2 separate regions of the Homo sapiens genome follow, and region 1 is linked to region 2. Evidence: promoter capture Hi-C in 16 types of primary human blood cells and fetal thymus (Javierre and others, 2016). All regions are on one chromosome and are shown on one strand. Each heading gives the region's core, a stretch centred on a gene start or on the middle of the fragment in contact. The rest is flanking DNA. Distances are from core to core; before and after follow the strand shown.

Region 1 (6,500 bases), core at 1-2,500, 260 kb after region 2:
AGCACCCTTTCCTACCAAAATATAAAGTTGAGTTTCTCATTCTCTCTTTTGTAGTGAGCATTTGTCCTGTGCTTTCACATTCTTTCTGCATGGAGAAAGTAATGTATGCACAAGTGTGGAGATTGCCCAGCACCAGCCAATTTATTTGATCAATGAGGAGCATATACACATGGCTCAGTCTTCACCTGCACCATTTCAAGGTAAGTATGGGTGTTCCTGCTCTCCACCCCTATCCGCCACCGAGTGGATAACCATCTTGCCCAGTAAAGTTTTGCAGGGTGAGACCTTATCTTAAATGGACATTTTAAAGCTAAGCATAAGGGTCAGATTTTGAAGAAGGAAGAAAAGACTACCATTTCATAATTAAGTAGTAATAGTGTGTTAGTTTTTCGCTGAAGCTTATCGCATATATAAGATGGTCTTATGTGTATTCTTTTGTAAGAATAAAATGTAGAATTTCCTTCAGAACAAAAGAAAATCAATAAATACTTGAAAAATAGAATTCAATGAGTAATTGACCAAAGTCACAAATTAAAGGTTTTCATTGTTGTGTTTATTAACAAGGTTTTAGGAATGTAATGGTTTATAGAAGATAAACCAAATACTTAGTATTTGAAATTTCTATCAGAATCAAAGTTCTAGAATTATACAGTGTATAGTTTCTTCAGCGATGTTCCTAACTTTGTTTTAATTTTAAACTCCATTGGTAATAGGTATTTAGCTGTAATTTAAATGTAATTGATACATTCATATTTTCATTAATTCTCAGCTTTACCACCTATATATCACCAAAATAACTTCATGTCCTTTTGATCTGAGCATTACAAATCTTAGTTTTGTCTTTGGAATTCAGAATTTTCTGTGAGTAACAGCTTTTAAATGTTATAATATTAGATTGAACCGTATGGAAACAATCTTTTTTTGGTTCAGTCTAATATGTCATTATTAGAGATGACTGGTTGAAATAGTCTTAGCATATCACACAATATAATTTTAAAAAACACTGATATTTTAACAGACTTGACTAAAATATTATAATTGCTGTAAAAGCCTGTCATGAGCATTTAGCCTCCATTGTATTTATTTTTTGTTTTCTATAAACTATTCTGATTTAATTCAATGAAAGCATCTGTTTCTTGCCCCAAATATAATAAAACTACTAGAAAATTCAAAACCCAATTCTTAAACTGTACAGTACAAATTGTACAGTATTTGCAAATTATGGCTTATCAGAATTTTTAAAATACTGTTTTCTTGAGTGTAAAAGTGCTGAGGACCATCTGACTCCATCCAACATTTTATCACTCAGAATAAAAGCATTTAGTTATGGTAATAACAGAGGAATAAGTAGTCATGAGGGAAGAGAACTTATTTCTAATCTTCAATGTTGGGAACAATAATATTAGGAATACCAGGTCCCTATAGACCACTTTTAATTTTTCTGATTTTTGTCACTGATGGAAGTCATAGAATACTTTTGTGGAGCATTATTCTGCTTATTTTCCATGATTGGTGTGGAGGAAGACCATACTAAGGCAGTTGCTGTCCTTATGGATAATTATATTCATCATAATTATCCAAATTGATGTGGGAATTTCCTGGAAGCATTATTGCAAAAAAATTACCCTTGATTAACTGTGTTAGTTGGAGTCAGTATTTTTATCCCATTTGGATCATTGAGGAACAGCAGAAAGACTCAACGATACATGTGATGTCTATAACTGTCTCTCTCTTGATTGATGTGACATATGATCTAGCTCTTTAAAAAAATTAAAAAAAAGACATTCCGTTTAATGACCATGCTGAGTTTTTGTTAAAAATTAGAATTAAGAAAAAGTGGCCTTTATCTTCAGAAACGTATTATTTGGAAGATTGAAGTACTCACTTCAAGGCTATGAACTGGCTGGGTAATTCACAGTACTATATTAACTATATTTTTGTGTCTGACTCAGTGAAAATGCCATCAAGGTCAAATACTGAAAGAAGATAGAGGACTTTGGGTCCTTTACTTTGAGTTAAATCAAATTTTACTTAGAGTTGTTTTATCAACAGACCTCTAAAACAGTCAAAACAGAAACGATAACTATTATGCTTCAAGCTTTTGTACATTAAAACTTTCCCACTGTTAGAAATTTCATTTATATGTTATTCTTTGATTACCACAGATGTTTAGGGAGTCTCAGGAACCACAAGAGTGTTCAAGTTTTAGGCAGCATTTGCGGTCTCCATGTTGAATGATTTTCTTCTGTTTTGAGAGAGTCAGTGTTTACATTGTACAGGCTATTATTAAACAGATATGTATATGCTTCAAAGCATAGCTGTCTGATAACATTGTACTATCCATATTTTATTTCGTTTAAAAATTGTGGGAGGTGAGAGGTGTATAAATAATAAGAAATTTTAAAACAAGAAACTTCAAAATATCATACTTTTGTGGCTAAGGCGGGAGCATCACTTGAGCCTGGGAGTTCAAGACCAGCCTGAGCAACATAGTGAGACCCAGTCTCTACAAAAATAATTTTTAAAAAAATTTCTTTTAAATCATACTTTAAATAGAGTTAGGAAATAAAGAACAATGCACATTAAGTGATACTGTAACCTAAAATTACCACATATGTAGTGTTGCACTTAAGTAGGAATTATTTCTCTAATGTTTAGCATGTATTTCTCCTCCCCTCCATAGTACTGGTAAGTCCTTATGGCTTAAATGGGACGCTAACAGGCCAAGCATACAAGATGTCAGACCCAGCCACTCGTAAGTTGATTGAGGAATGGCAGTATTTCTACCCGATGGTGCTAAAAAAGAAAGAAGAATCGAAAGAGGAAGACGAGTTGGGATATGATGATGATTTCCCTGTGGCAGTTGAAGTAATTGTTGGTAAGAGAAAATATTTTGCCTGAAGAACTTTATTCTTCTTCCTCTTCCTTAATTTAAAAAGATAATCATTTAGATTCTTCAGAAATAATCTCCATACCCATCTTTTTAAAGAAATTCTCTTGACACAATGGTATGTACTGAGTAGTTATCTTGCCTGAAGCACCCTTGGTCCTTGTATTCCAAATGCTCTTATCATCATGTTGGAACACATGTTTAAACAGCTATTAACTTATGAAAGAATGGAGCCTATCACTTTTGGCAGTACTTCATGAGCATCTCATTTTCACCATTGGAATCATAAAATTGGAAGTCTTGTATGAATTCTTTCTCAGTCCTGATTCTTTCCTTGTTCTCTTTGCTTATAGGTGGTGTTCGGATGGTTTACCCTTCAGCATTTGTTTTGATCTCTCAGAATGACATCCCGGTTCCTCAGAGTGTTGCCAGTGCTGGAGGCCACATTGCAGTTGGGCAGCAAGGGCTTGGTAGTGTGAAGGACCCAAGTAACTGTGGGATGCCTCTGACCCCTCCCACCTCTCCAGAACAGGCTATCCTAGGTGAGTAGGATCCAGGAGTGTCCTGGGGAGAAGAGATCTCAGACAATTGTATAGTCTACCTGCCATGGAACAGGTGAGAAAACAGAAATTCCTGTTGGAAGAGATGGAGGTAGTAGAGTAACGTAAGGATATTACAAAATGGAGAAGGAAAACTATAAACAAACAGAATTCATACACTTCAGAATTTTAACTCTGTCCATATTAGTCTTTATTGTTATTAAATAGTTTAGATTCTGTTAAAGTTTGCACACACATCTGCCCCTGTATGTGTGTATGTGTTCACATATAGATAAAATGTAGGGTTTTTTTTTGTTTTTTTTTTTTTTAATTTTGAACAACTGAAGAATACTAAATCAGAGAGTAGCTGAAGCCTCTGCCCCGGTGACCATTGTCAGCCAGGGACAGGCCTTGAACAACTCTTTTCCCTGTTAGATGTAAAGTTAGACTAGTGCTTAGTAGCTCTGAATAAATACTTTTCTCTGTCAGTAAAGTGTCTGCATTAATAATAAATATTAATTATATGGGACAGTTTTGACAGTTGGAACTGCCTGTCTTCATGGAAAAATTCAGAAATTGTTTAAATTGGGAACATTTTTGCCTTCTTTATTGAGTAGTATAGTTCCTATATTAACTTTGTTATTGTTGTAGTTGACCTCACTTTAATTAGAACTGTGGTCAGTATGGAAAGGATACTCATCATACTTGAGCCGAAATGAGATTATTTATTTATAAGCATTGAATGTGGGCCAAGCTGGCAGGAACATTAGAGTAAATAAAGCCTTGGCTGCTAAACTTTGAAAATAAACTATCAAGCATGATACATACGTAATCCTCATGAAAATTACCAGAGTAAGACAAAATTTGAAAGTTTCTAGCACAATTCTTGGCAATTAGTGGGCATTAAATAAATGTTTATAGTTAAAGAAGATATTGGGGAAAAGCATATACTTTGTGATTGAGCGCACCTCGTTGTAAAACCTGGCTATATCGTTTACAAGGTGAGTGACCTTATTTAATTCTCGTAGTTTTTCTGAATCTTGGTTATTTTTTCTGATAAATACATACTTTACCGTGTTGTTGTACATACTAGGTAATATATACAAGTGCTTGGTAAACAATAAAGTCATATACAAGTGGTAGCAATAATTTAAAGCAATATTCAAAACTCGAAGTTTAGCACACATTGTCTGGAGGTAATTACTCAGATGTTTTGTGGGAGACATAGAAATGGACATGTATGTTTTTAAGAACCATGTATTTGCTGAGATGGTTAAAAAAAAAAAAAGAAGAAAAGAAAAGTACATCCAAGGCCAGGCATGATGGCTCATGCCTGTAATCCCATCATTTTGGAAAGTCATGGCAGGTGGATCGCTTGAGCTCAGGAGTTTCAGACCATCCTGGGCAACATGGTGGAATCCTGTTTCTACAAAAAATACAAAAATGAGCTATGCATGGTGACAAATGCCTGTAGTTCCAGCTACTTGGGAGGCTGAGGTGGGAAGATGGCTTGAGCCCTGGAGGTGGAGGTTGCCGTGAGCCAAGACAGCATCAGTGCACTCCACCATGGTCGACGGAGCTAGACCATATCTCAAAAAAATAAAAAAGTACTTGCGGCTTTCATTTGGTAGAGCAGAGAATTTGGATGATTCCTTGTGAAAGGATTTATCATCAATCAACTATATTAAACTAAAAAAGAACTTTCATAGTCTTTTGTAGTAATCATCATAGAGAAGATATATGAATATAAAAATTAGAATTATCAGTATTTTGAAGTTTTTAATTTCACATCACAATTTGGATTTTTAACAATTGCACTACATTAAGTTATCCACTTGTTATCTGTTTGTTTTTGTTTTGCCTTGTACTTAGTGAAATTTGTATTCAACTTAAAATTGAAGGCCTGCTGTGTAAATGAGGCTTTGACCTCTGGTCAGTTCAGAACTCTTAATAGTCATAATTCAGAAACAAGAGGTTTTTTTTGATGGGGGATTTCAGTGTGGACTAATTAACTATGGATCTTCAAATTCCTTCCCCTTTAACTCTGTATGCTATTGTGTTAGGCCTTGGATAAATAAATCCCCTGATGTCGCCTTATTCCTTAAAACAAACACACACAACTGAACAAAAGCTGCCGATATCCTTGTAGTAAAATGAATTTGCCTAAATTTTCATATCATAGGATGTTGAATTACAGGTTAGGAGTCTTAATGCTGTATCAGAGAGTATCCCGGTCAGCCTTGACATTCTGTAGTTGAATGCCATATTTTTCTAGATATAGGACAGAATGGGCTACTTTGCCGTCTAAAAAACACCAAGGTTCTCCTTGATTAGCAGAGGGCTTAGGAGGGCCGAATAGTATTAGTGACATTACTCATACCTTATTTGGATTGGTATATCCACTTGCCTCTTTGTTTGATATGTAGAGGTAATTGCAAGTAACAACATTCAACATGCATTTTAACAGATTGGAGTAACAAGTCTTGTTTAATTCCATCTAAGATACCACTCAGATTTTAGTTCAGTCATTTAAGTGCCACTGAAAAGCTTCAACCTAGCTTTAGTCAGAAAAGTCTCTATGGCTTGTTTCTCCCTACTCTTTTCTTTTCTTGGTCATAAATTGTTTCTTTATGATACCATGGGCATATGATCTCTTTAGCTATATCATAGGATGTTTTGGAGAGAAGGTCTATGTTATCTACTTCATACTTCTGTTTATTTCTTTAGTTTGCCTAGTTTTATAATTGGTGTTTGAAAAGCAATTGTAAAATTGAAATTAATTCTTTTGCATCATGAACCAAGTTGGGAACTTTTAAAATGTAGCAAAGTTCAAATTTCTTATCTCATTTGTAATATAGTAATACTTTTATCGGAAAGAAGAGCGCTTCATTTCCTTAGAATATAAGCATTTGGGTCTTTTTTTTAAATAGACGTAAGCCTGACCATTCAGCTTGTATCATCATCATCTTTCATTGATAATAAGAATACTTAGTTTGTGTTATAAAGTTGCTTCTTTCTTTTTCACCTTGACTTTCGTTAAGGTGTTTTGCATCATAGTTCTATTGAGAAGA
Region 2 (6,478 bases), core at 3,277-5,776:
TCTGACAGCCAAGAAAATCTTTGTGGATGAGGGTATTTTTCTTTCTTCTTTTTTGTTTTCTCTATTTGCTTTAAGTTTACTTTTATGATGCCATTTGATTGATTACTCTGTTTTCAATTTTATTTATTGATTTTTGTTGTTTATAACTTACTGCACTGAATGGATATGTATACATTTGGTTATTTTATTTTATTTATTTATTTTTGAGACAGAGGCTCACTCCATCGCCCAGGTTAGAGTTTAGAGTGCAGTGGCAGGAGCTTGGCTCACTGCAACCTCCACCTCCCAGGTTCAAGCAATCTCCTGCCTCGGCTTTCCAAACAGCTGGGATTATAGGCACGCATCACCATGCCCGCCTAATTTCTGTATTTTTAGTAGAGATGGGGTTTCACCATGTTGGCCAGGCTGGTCTTGAACTCCTGACCTCAAATTATCCACTCACCTTGTCCTCCCAGTTCTAGGATTCTAGGATTGCAGGCATGAGCCACAGCACCCGGCCAACATTTGGTTATTTTAAACAAAGGAAAAAAGAAAATGCAAACAGTATGGTAAAAAGTAATCCCACTCCAACTCCCAGTCCCCCTAGTTCCCCTCCTTAGAGGCAACTAATGTTACTACTAGTTTCTTGTTACCCTTCCTGAGGTATCTCAATAAATAATCTATTTTTGAGATTATTCCATATTAGTGCAAATAGCACTAACTCATTATTTTTAATGGCTGCATGGGAGTAAATTATATTGTTAACTATTCCCCAAATGATGGACATGTTTCTAGTTTGTACCCTACAAACAATGCTATAGTTCATATCCCTGCACTGCATGTCTTTATACAATCGTACAAGTATCTCTGTTGGATAAACTTCTAGAAGTCGAACAGCTGGGTCAAAGGCTGTGTGCATTATAGATTTTGATGCTAGTTGAACGGACATCCAAAGCTATGGTGTTAATTTATATTCCCACCAGCAGTGTATGAGAGTCCTACTTCTCTCTACATTTGTCTAAGCTTTTAAAATACTGTCAATACTTCTTGTGGCTTTAATTTCTGCTTTTTCTTATGATGAGTGTGTTAGTCGGCTCCAGCTGCTATAACAAATTACCATAGACTGGGTGGCTTTAAACAACAGACATTTACTTCACACAGTTCTGGAGGCTGGGAAGTCCACGATCAGGTGCTGGCCATTTCAGTTCCTGGTAAGGACCCTCTTCTTGGTTATGTCTTCACACAGTAGAGAGAGAGAAGCAAACTCCCTTGTGTCTCTTCCTACAACGGCACTAATTCCATCACGAGGGCTCCACTCTTATGCTAATTACCTCCCAAGGGCTCCACCTTCAAATATCTTTACAGTGGTGAGTAGAGTTTCAACATATGAAGTTTGGGGAGGACACAAACATTCAGCCAATAACAACGAGTGAGGTTGAGTAACATTTTATATACAATCAAGTGTCAATGATGGGGATGTGTTCTGAGAAATGTAACACTGGTGATTTCCTCATTGTGCAAACATCATAAAGTGCACTTGCACAAACCTAGATGAGATAGTCTACTGCACAGCTAGGCTAAATGGTATAGCCTATTGCTCCTAGGCTACAAACCTGTATGGCATGTTACTGTACTGAATACTGTAGGCAGTTGTAATATAATGGTGTTTGTGTATCTAAACACATCTAAGCTTAGAAAAAGTACAGTACAAATATGGTATTATAATCTTATGGGACCACTGTCATATATGTGGTCCACTGTTGTCCAAAATGTAGTACATGACTGCATTTAAAAGCTGGTCTTCTCTATTCTGTAAACTGTCCAAGTCCTTTATTCATGTTTCTATTAGGTTTTGCTCTGAAAGATTTATCATTAGTATTTGATTTTTCGAGAGAGGGTCTCCGTCACACAGGCTGAAGTGCAGTGGCAAGATCATGGCTCACTGTAGCCTCAAATTCCTAGGCTCAATCGATCCTCCTATCTCAGCCTCCCAGGTAGCTGGGACTACAGGTGAGCACCTGGCTAATTCTTTTGTAGAGATGGGAGTTTGTCATGTTGCCTTGGCTGGTCTTGAATTCCTGGACTCAAGCGATCCGCTGGCCTTGGCCTCCCAAAGTGCTGGGACTACAGGTGTGAGCCACTGCACCTGGCCTATTACTATTTCTACTTAAACCTAAACATGCTGAAGAATGACAATTTGGTCACCAGGTGAGTAGGATAGAACTACCTTCACCTCTGATGTAAATATATGGAATCTGGATATGATGGGCATTATACCCTCGAATTGCTCAGGCCTAAGTAACACCGTGTATGTTGACAGAGTGGTTTTTTTTTTTTTTTTTTACTTTTACCAACAGTATCTTTATTTATTTATTTATTTATTTTTTTGATGGAGTCTCACTCTGTCGCCCAGGCTGGTGTGTAGTGGTGCAATCTCTGCTCACTGCAACCTCTGCTTCCTGGGTTCAAACGATTCTCTTGTCTCAGCCTCCCAAGCAGCTGGGACTACGGGCACACGCCACCACACCCGGCTAATTTTTGTATTTTTAGTATTTTTAGTAGAGACAGGGTTTCATCATGTTGGCCAGGCTGGTCTCGAGCTCCTCACCTCAGTTGGTCTGCCCGCCTTGGCCTTCCAAAGTGCACGGATTACAAGCGTGAGCGACTGCATCCGCTCATCAACAGTATCTTAATAGAAATTCTCAATATTGGCCTGAGGTCATTGGGTCAGCAATCAGGATCAATTTTTGAGATTAGGAAATGAGGCTCAAAGAGTTAAACTATGTTGGTCAAAATAATGCAATTAGAGGGATGGCAAAGCCAGCCAGAGGCATCTTTCTAAGGAGCCTCCTGAATTCATGCTCGGGCTCTGGAGTCAGAAGGACCTGAGTTTGAGCCATGTACTAACTGAGAGATTGGAGATGTCACTGCACACCTCTGAGTTTTACCTAATTACAGCCTAAGAATAATAACAGTATCTACTTTAGGTGGTTGTTCTGCGGATTATGTGAAATAATGTAGGTAACGACATTCATTGTAACAATATGTTGCATGATAATACACATTATAACATGTTGCTCATGAGTTTTGCTTTAGCAGTATTTGTGGTAGTTCCAAAACTCAGTTCACGTGTCTTAAGACTTCTCTTATTATACACTCTCATCTCTTCCCTGCTTTCTACTCTTCCTTTTTTTTTTTTTTTTTTTTTTTGAGACAGGGCCTCTCTCTGTCACTCAGGCTGGAGTACGGTGATGCGACCTCGGCTCACTGGGCTCACTGCAGCCTCTGCCTCCAGGGCTCAAGTTATCCTCCCACCTCAGCCTTTCGAGTAGCTAGGGCTACAGGCACATGCCACACTACGCCTGGCTAATTTTTGTATTTTTGTATTTTATTTTTTTTGTCATGACGGGGGTTCTTGCTACATTGCTCAGGCTGGTCTTAAACCTCGGCTAGGATTACCGGCGTGAGCCACTGTGCCAGCCATCCACTCTTCCTCTTTTAGCTTAATCTACCTGAAACAGCTGATTGTTCCATGTTTGGAGGCGTATTAGTGAAGACATTGTTTTCTCCTCCCCCTTTTCGGGGATCCATTTCTTGAGGACTGGGAGAGCTTCTCTTCATAGCAGCACTCCTCCGGACTCCCAGGCCATATACACTCAGGAAATGTTGGTTATCCAATGAATGACGCCAGGAAGAAGGGTCTGCTCCCAACACGGCCTTAGCACAGTGCCTGGAAGTTATAACAGATTCTGGCACACAGCAGGAGCTCAGGAAACATTTATGTAATGAATGAATGAATGAATGAATGAGTGCACACAGTAACTAGGAGTAAGGGCTCAATAAACATTTCTGTATTAAACGCACAGTGTCTGGAACACAGTAAGCGCTCCGTCTATGGCAGCCGTGAATATCCCTGGGCGAAGCCTGTGAAACCTTGTCCAAGAGCTTGGCTTCACTGTGCGCGGGTTCGAATCTGGACTCCTCTTCCCAAGTGTGCGACCTCGGGCAAGTGATTTAATCCCTTTGTGCTTTAGTTTTCTCCTCTGCAAAAGGCGGACGGCGGCGCGAGCCTCTGAGGACACATTCCCCAGGGCACTCGGACCCGCTGCCTGGCCCACATCGCGGCCGCCGCGCCACGCCAGCCGGCCTGGGCTGCGAGGGCACAGGCCGGGGGTCCCGCGCCCTCCTCCGCGGCCACCACGGGCGCGCCCGGGACCCACGGTCCCGCCCCGCCACGATCAGTGCACCGCGAGGGGGCGGGGCGGCCACGAGGGGCAGCCCACGGCAGCCACGGGCCGGCAGTCCGCCGCCCGCCGGGGAGCCCGGCCGCCCGCACTTCTTTCTCTCCCTCTCTGCCTCCCTCCCTCCCTCTTCCCGGCCGGAGGACCCGGCCGCGCTCAGCTCAGCAGCGCCTCCCGCGAGCCGCCGCCGCCGCCGCCACTCCGGACCCCTCCCCCGCCCGCCCCTCGCTCCCCCCGCGCGGCCGGCGCCCGTCACGTGACCAAGCGCCAGCCAATGGCGGGCCGAGCCGCGGTCGGCGGCCGCCATTGCTGTCAGAGCAAGCGAGCCCGGGGAGGGAGGAGAAGCGAGGCTGACTGGGGAGGAGGGGGGGGTGGGGGAGGAAGAGGAAGGAGGGGACGTCGCTCGGCTGCCGGGGTCGCCCGCTGGCTTCGTCCGCACCCCCCCCTTCGCGAGTTCGCGCTCCGCGGCGGCGGCGGCTCCGAGGCGGCGGCGGCGGCTCCGGGGCTCGCCTCCCCTCGCGCGCCGGCGGGGGCCGAGGGGGAGTCGGTGGCTGGAGATAAACAAGGCGGCGGCAGCGGCAGCAGCGGCGGCGGCGGCGGCTGAGGAGCAGGGAAGGCGGAGGCGGTGGCCGGCCCGCAGCGCCGGCCCGGGGCGCGCGCCCCCCCCGCCAGCCCGGGCCCGCTGCCCCCGGCGCGGCGTCGCCGCGGCGCCTCCCGCCTGCCCGCCGGCCCTCGCGCCCTCCCCCGGCGGCGGCGGCGGCCCGGCCGCCCCGCGCTCCCCGGCGAGGCGCCGCCGCCCGGCCCGGCCTCGCCTCGGACGCCTCGCTCCGACATGCCCCGCTCTGGCGGCCGGGCTCGCGGAGGATCATGACTGCGGCAGCGAACTGGGTGGCGAACGGGGCGAGCCTGGAGGATTGTCACTCCAACCTCTTTTCGCTGGTGAGTAGCCGGGCTGCGGGGAGGGGGCTGTGCCGGGGAAGGGGGGGGGTCCCCGACCTCCGCCGCCGACCAACTTTCTCCTCCCGCCGCCGGGACTTCGCCCCTCCCTCGCGTCTCCCCGCCGTTCGCCTCTCGCCGATTCTCCCCCTTTTGGATCGTCTCTCTCTCGCCTTGGATCCCATCCAGTGTTTATTTGGCTCTTTAAAAATCATTTGTGAGCGCGGCGCTCGGCGTGGAATTTGCATGTGGAAGTCTCGGAGCTGCGGATTCTGGGTCGCACTTCGAACGCCCACCCTCTGTTGCAATCGCACTCCCCTTCTCCTCCCCTTTCCCCCCTTTTTTTCCCCCCGTAAATGTGGAAGGCTTTGCCTTGTGCTGCCGCGCCTCCGATCGGCAACCTCTTCCCCCGTTGTTGGATCAGCTGCCTGCCCGCCCGCCTGCCTTTTGAATTTTTTTAAATTCCATAATGACACCTGCAATTTCGCCCTAAAATAGTTGATTGAATGCGATTGTGTCAGGAAAGGACTCTTGCACCCGAAGCTCCCGCGATTGTAAACATCGACAGCCGCCTGCCTCTCGGGGCTTACTATGCTGGAGAGCCGTAAAGCCATTGCACCGAGCCGACGGAAGGTGGAGAAAGCTTTTTCTTCTTTCTCTCCTCCTGTGTCTTTTAAAAACTGTTTTTCTCTATCCTAACAACGAATCCGCACACACACACACACACACACACACACACACACACACACACACAAAAGCAACAAGCTGGTCGGTTTGATAACATCGCTTTTATCTGCCTTCGCCTCTCTCGCGCTCTCTCTTTCTGATAATTGACAACTTTTCCTTCGGATTTGAATCGCCTGCCTTAATCTTGAAGCAGTTAGGGTGTCAATTGTTCTCGTGGAAGCCTGGCACCCGCCGACGGTGTCTAGATTCATCGAAATTAAAAATGTATAGGGCTCCAGCAACTCTTTTCCTGGCGGTGTCAGTGACATTTGGTGGTAAATGCCATCTTTGCTTTTTATTGGGTCGTATTACCTACCTCTGAAAACATTCACGTTGTTAAACCTGGCGTTTAGGCTAATAATTGCAGTGCGTGGTCTTTAAATATGTGCTTTGTGCATGAGTTACTGTATGTATAGCTATGTGCCCAGGAGAGTACGAATTTGTTTAAATATTGAGCAAAGATTTGTAAACAGATGTAAGGCAATTACGTTTCAAGCGTAGAATATAATTGGAAAATTGGCTGAACGGTTTATTTAATTTAGCCTTAAAAACACCCAACTTGTTTTAAGTTGTGTACCCTGTTTTTTTTGGGGGGG

Evidence for each region. Contacts are between HindIII fragments. The CHiCAGO score rates a contact against its expected background, and 5 or more counts as called.
Region 1: a fragment that was not itself captured here is called in contact with the fragment with the promoter of MED13L in region 2 in 16 of 17 cell types (M1 macrophages, megakaryocytes, erythroblasts and 13 more); the score reaches 15.3 in M1 macrophages.

The regions. Positions count from the first base shown.
Region 1 is chr12:116,016,156-116,022,655 of GRCh38, reverse strand. It overlaps MED13L (mediator complex subunit 13L), which reads left to right. Exons shown (of 31, transcript NM_015335.5): 5 at 55-200; 6 at 2,684-2,878; 7 at 3,244-3,432. Among named protein-coding and RNA genes, the nearest start is that of MIR620, 130 kb to the left of the region's middle. The HindIII fragment of the contact is 1,700 bases long and covers 401-2,100 here.
Region 2 is chr12:116,275,741-116,282,218 of GRCh38, reverse strand. It overlaps MED13L (mediator complex subunit 13L), which reads left to right and starts at 4,526. Exons shown (of 31, transcript NM_015335.5): 1 at 4,526-5,159. The coding sequence starts at 5,088. RefSeq lists silencers at 4,118-4,177, 4,228-4,697. The HindIII fragment of the contact is 4,130 bases long and covers 1,672-5,801 here.